Regions from separate parts of the Homo sapiens genome. Here region 2 is linked to region 1. The links are contacts of gene promoters, found by promoter capture Hi-C in blood cells and fetal thymus (Javierre and others, 2016). All regions are on one chromosome and are shown on one strand. The core of a region is centred on a gene start or on the middle of the fragment in contact, and the rest is flanking DNA. Distances in the headings are between cores, read along the strand shown. Region 1 holds the start of SLITRK4 (SLIT and NTRK like family member 4). Region 2 has its middle 79 kb from the start of SPANXN3.

What was found. Contacts are between HindIII fragments. The CHiCAGO score rates a contact against its expected background, and 5 or more counts as called.
Region 2: a fragment that was not itself captured here is called in contact with the fragment with the promoter of SLITRK4 in region 1 in 3 of 17 cell types (M2 macrophages, M0 macrophages and M1 macrophages); the score reaches 17.0 in M2 macrophages.

What each region holds. Positions count from the first base shown.
Region 1 is chrX:143,634,613-143,637,675 of GRCh38, forward strand. SLITRK4 (SLIT and NTRK like family member 4) reads right to left here and starts at 1,489. Exons shown (of 2, transcript NM_001184749.3): 1 at 1,123-1,489. The HindIII fragment of the contact is 4,708 bases long and covers 1-1,681 here.
Region 2 is chrX:143,437,165-143,440,275 of GRCh38, forward strand. No RefSeq gene overlaps it. Among named protein-coding and RNA genes, the nearest start is that of SPANXN3, 79 kb to the right of the region's middle. The HindIII fragment of the contact is 599 bases long and covers 1,021-1,619 here.

The DNA of each region.
Region 1 (3,063 bases), core at 239-2,738:
TAGGCAGGCAAGTGGGAGGTGGAGGGCAGGATTAGCCACCTCGGCCACTTTGGCCACTCAACCGGCCCCAAACCAACAGGACCCAAACTAAAAATAATAAGCTACCTGCCCCCTCGGCTCGCGTGCGCGCGCGCGAGATCTCTCTCTCTCTCTCTGTCTCTCTCTCACACACACACACGCACGCACACGCGCTACTGAGCTGAGCGGGGAAGAGGCAGCACGCGTGTCGGTGCAGCTTGTGCAGCCCCCGCTGAAAATTCACCCACCTCTAGAGCCCAGCGTCTGGTGCAGGGCCCGCGGCGCCGTGACCTGCGCTGCTGTTTCCACGATGGTATCTATGTGATTCCGGACAGAGCTCCTCCGCGCCCGCTCGCCCGTCAAACCCACGGAGCAGCCCCAGCAGGCGAGCAGGCGGGCCGGCGGGCAGGCGGGCAGCGGCGCGCGCGCGCACCCGAGCAGACACCGCGCGCGCACCCAGCGCCTAGCACACGGGCTGCACCTTTACATACACGCGCTGAATCCCCGCCCCCGCTCTCCACCACCCCCCCCCACCCCGCACACAAGCAGTCCTTCCTCCCGACACTCGACCACTTTGACCCCCTCACATTCCTGAGCTCCTACCCCCGTCCCCCATCCAGACATGCCCATTTGATTCCTCTTCTACCCACACACCCAGAAAGACAGCGCGCTTTCCTCCCGGCATCCGCCCCCTCTTTTTGCCTAAAACATTCCCTAGGGAGGAGCGACCCCTTTCCTCAGGCGTGGAGACCCCAGTCCTCTAACAAGGGCGCACTCGCCTCCATCCCCCCCACCACATACACACACACTCGAGCCCTTTTCTTCTCTTCCAGTCCCCTAATAACGAAGGAACACACACACACACACACACACACACACACACACACACACACACACACGGGGCATTCCTTTGAGAGAGCAACCAAGAAGCCAGGAAAAGCCAAAGAAACACTGGAGAGCCTGGGGGAGGGGGGCCGAGGGAGATCGATAGGGTCGTCGAGTCTACGCGGAATTGAATAATTACAGGATGGAGGGGAATGAGTCAACAACAATGACATTCAAATGCAACAATCATACTTGGATTTTGTATCACGGGTACGGTACCTTTGGCTAATTGTCACCCCGCAGAACGGAGGGCTCCTGGAATACTTCTCCGTGGCGGTCGATCCTGGAAGGAGCCTTCTTGGGAACCAATTTCCTAGGATCCAGTAGTATTCGCACTCCCCCTACCTGTCTGCGCGTAAGGGGCCAGGGGCTTTAAGGCGAAAGTGTGAGGCTTTAGCCTAAAGTGAGACTATTTAGCCGGGTTAGAAGGAGACGGGTTAATTATCCGCACCTTAGAACTCCGTGGGCCTTTGGTGCAGAATGGGTTAAGCCGGATGATCTTGGAGCTGGGGGTGGGGATAGGGGATAGGGGATAGGGGTTGAGGAAAGAGAGGCGTGGGACTGGGAGAGATGCCGCACTTGCGACCAAAAGAAAAAAAAAAAAAAAAACTACTTTGGCTACTGAGCATGCCCAGTTCCCAGCTCAAGCCCTATAAGGGAGGCATTGTGTGCATTCCACTTCTCCGGGCTTTGGTGGTGACCGGGAGGGGAGTTTGACTGGGGAAGGGGGTGGTAGTTGGGAGACATTAGGGAAAGGGGGTTGGAGAACAAGGTTTGAAGCTTTGGGACTGCTCAGGAGGGACTGTGAAGAGAGAAAGGGAAGGGACCCACGGAGTACCTTCGGGAGACGGGGAGAAGGAGAGGAAATGGACTAAGAAAAGTCACTTCAGTCGCCCCTCATTGTGTATACCAAAGAGGCTTTAGCAGCTGAATCTGAAATATCCAGTGGCTGCAAATCCAACGTGTGGATTGTCTAGGCCCCTTCTTCTACCCTTTTTGTTAGTGCTTCCACAAGAGATAAGAAATATTCTGAGGAAGGGCCAATGTTCAAACCAGTTTCATGCAAATTGATAATTTCGTTAATAAGCTTGTTAAGAAAATAAATAAACCTGGGGGAGGGGAGCAGAGAGGAGTTGGCTATCATGTATGTATTTCAGATACCTGGCTTTCCTAAACAAAAGGCATAAACATTGGATGTGCTCCCATCCCCCAACCTTGCTGTTTTTTGTAGGAGCTTGGCTAAGAAAAACAACTCTCTCTCTCTTCGTGTCTGTGGGAATAAACTAGCTTTAGGTAAGTAGAGCTAAGTTATAAATGGGAAGTATTTCCCTAGGACTCTTGGTAGCCTATTATTTGCCACATTCAGGTAATACTGCCAGGCCCATTTCTTCAGGACCAGTGTGTTGCCCAATTTACTTATTCAAATCCCAGCGGCTCTAGCCACAATAGAGCACAACCGGTATCCAGAAATGTTCTTGCTTAAAAATGAAAAAAAAAATCTTTAAGCTAAAACTAGCAACAGCTTTGAAACCAGAATTTGGCTGTCTGCCTGAACTCCTACAGTTAAACATTTACCATAATTGGTTGATGTTTAAAGGCCCCAAATCTAGGTAGAAACATCTGATGGGCAAAGGATTTATTACATTATTTGTGAATAATGGTCTACCTTCTGTATCATCTATAGTAGTCATTCATATACATGTTTCATTGTTTTTCATTTTTTGTCATTTTATGGGACTTCCGTCAGGTTATATTCACACAAATGTTCACCGGGCACAACATGTATACAGAGATGCACGTACAATATGTAAATGAATACTTAAATAGATATGCGTGTATGGGCATATTTCTTTATGACCTTGCTAAATATTGTGTCGTTCATGAAGAACTCTTTCTCTACCTTCACTCCACATTGCCTTGAAAACTGTAATCATCCTCTCTTTTACAAACAACCTAGAGACAGAAATTGGGCAGCATTGGTAAAATTTATCTTATTCAATGTGAAATCCATTATGAAATAGCATTAAGGAAACACTAAAATATTTGTCTATAACAGCGTATGTAATTGTGCAGCTCCTTTTAGCAAAGTGAATGATGTTTCCTTCATAGGTAACAGCTGCAGAATGTTGAAAAATCCCTCTACTCTTGCACACTTGGACA
Region 2 (3,111 bases), core at 70-2,569, 200 kb before region 1:
GAACATTTTACATCGTTCACACTAGTCTAGTGGCGTGTAGAGCTATAATGAAGCCAGAGGGAAAAGGAAAAGTCAGTAATACTGATCCTGTCTTTATTTAAAATTTTGATGTTTTATTCGTTGTGTATCTAATGCATTAATTTTGATTTTTAAAAAACATTGGATTAAAGTATTGTTTATCATTATACTGAGTTTTTTGGCTATCCTTGAATTTTGCAACGAAGGCAATTGCCCCTCACTCACCCTACACTAGTCTTGGTCCTGCACCAGTCAATATAAACCTGTGGGGTTTTTTGGTATTTATTTCAATAGTTTTGGGGGGACAGGTGGTTTTTGGATACATTGATAAGCTCTTTAGTGATGATTTCTGAGATTTTGGTTCACCCGTCGCCCAAGTAGTGCACACTGTACCCAATATGGATTCCAGAAGCACCTTCGGGGCATATGAACGCTATTTGATTTGTAACCACTAGATGGAGACTTTTTCATTAGGTAGCACAGACCCCCTCACTCAATCTCTTGAGTTAAAGGGTATTGTAGTTGTCAGAGATACAACATCCAAACCTGGGAAAACTATATTCTTGGTTAATTCAAAACAGGAGTTAGGGAGAATTTTTATAAATAGTAAAGGCGGTTGATACCGTTATTATCAGAGTCCAAATTGAGGAATCTCGGTTTTGGCTTCTAAATCTGCTTTCAATTCCAACTGTGTTTACTATGTTGAATCTCAGTTTCCTTATGCATAAAAGGCAAGTAGTCATAGTATCTACCTATTAGGATTGCTTTCCGTGCAAATATAAATTTGAAATATCCTAACAAAATGACTGGTCATCAATAAATATTAATTACATTTTCTCTTCCCTTTTTTTTTTTTAACAGAAGATGTGAAATAGAAAGAATAGTCTATTAGCACCAAGGGAAATGCGTTCAACATTATGTCCCCTCCCAATTACTGTTATTCAAAACCATGTTTAGAATAACAAAACTTCAGAAATGCCAAGAAAGCTTCCACTCTGGCTAAGCTTATTCCAGAGATCAGCTCCTGGTCTTCTCCTAAGTCAGACTACCTGCTATGGAAGTGGACTCATTTATTTCCATCCAACAAATGCTTTTAATGCACCAGAATTTTGTGTGCAGGATTTTGCTAGGGGTTGAGGACATAGAAATAAGACAAAACACTGTTACTAGAATCTCGCAGTATCTAAATTAGGTGTGAGGTTAAATAATATATACATAAGTTATGATTTGATTCTACAAATATTTATTGAGATTCTACAATGTACAGGACATTGCACTGGGCAATGACTGGCATAAAAAATGCCTAGCACGGTCAGAAAAACACAAACCTGTTAGAGACAGAGACCCACATTCAAATCTCAATTCTGCTTCTTCCTGACTGTGTGACCATTTATGAGTCCCCAACTTCTCTGAATCTCATTTACTCTCAACTATAAAATGGAGATCATTCTCTCATGTGACTGTTGTGAGGATAGCATGTTATTCTGCATACTGCATACTGCTTCGGACAGCACCTGACACATAGTAAGAACTCAAAAAGAGTCAGTTATTATGAGTAATAATAGTAATTTTAGGATCCACCAACAAACTGTGTACTATGAAGCTTCCAGTGTAGAAGTTGTAACGCAATGACTTCTCTTCTATTTCTTCTTAACCTGGCTCATTCTCCTTCCCAGTTGAAATAATGAGATGAGATTGTTTTTCTGATAAATTTATGAAAACAATCTTCTAATGAGGAAGACTCTCAGGAGAATCTTCCTTACAGATGGGCATGCAGAAAGCAGTGACGTATCAGTGAAGAGGTTGAAGAGTGGGTATTTTGTAAATTTGTGTGTTTATTTTTGGAGGTATACATACTATCACCATAGTAGATTTCAAGCTACCAAAGGTATAACAACCAGCTAGAGAAATTTCTGAAAATTTAACAAGCGGTTCTCCTGGGCCAGTCTGAACAAATTCCAGCACACCACTGGCAGAAAGCCTATGGGTGCCCATCTGCATTGTTTAAGGTATTGAGGACTTCTTAAGAAATACAAGCCATAGATGTTTTCAGATTTATTTTGAATTTTTAAATCAGGATTCTGAATCTTTACTAAAGAACTTCCCAATGTAAAGTTTTCAGTCTTTCTCTTTCTCTTTCTTTCTTTCTTTCTTTCTTTCTTTTTCTTTCTTTCTTTCTTTTTCTTTTCTTTTCTTTTTTCTTTTCTTCTCTCTCTCTCTCTCCTTCCTTCCATCCTTCCTTCTGTCCTTCCTTCCTTTTTATTTTTAATTGACTAATAATAATTGTATATATGTACAGGGCACAATGTGATGTTTTGTTCTACGTATACAGTGTAGAAAGATTTGATTAAGCAATTTAACATATTTATCTATCATATAGAAGTGGAGGCTGTTATCTTGAGTGAAGTAACTCAGAAGCAGAAAGTCGAAGACAGCGAGTTCTTATAAGTGAGAGCTAAATGATGTGTACGCATTAACATAGACAGTAGAATAATAAACATTGAAGACTCAGAAGACTGGGAGAGAGGGAGGGGGTGAGAAATGAGAAATGACTTAATGGATACAATGTGCAATATTAGGCTGATGGCTACACTAAAAGCCCAGACTTCACCACTATGTAATATATCCATGTAACAAAACTACAGCTGAACTCTTTAAAACTCGAACTCCTGACCTCATGATCCTCCCACCCTGGCCTCCCAAAAGTGCTGGGATTACAGGGGTGAGCCACTGCACCCAGCTTAAATGGACTCCTTAAATCTATACAAATAAAAATATTTTAAAAATTCAAAAAACCTATTCATCATTTTTCCAATTTATCTTTTCTGTGGTAAGAACATTAAAATATATATATATATATTCTTTTATAAACTGTGGCCACCATGCAGTATAATCGATGACTAAAACTTATTCCTCCAGCAGAACTAAAACTTCGGTCCCCTTGATCAACATCTTCCTCTTCCCCATCCCCCCACTTCTTCCAAGCTTCTGGTAATTACCTTCCTACTCTCTCTCTCTCTCTCTTTTTTAAAATACTTTAAGTTCTAGCATACATGTGCAGAATGTGCATGTTTGTTGCATAGGTATGCACGT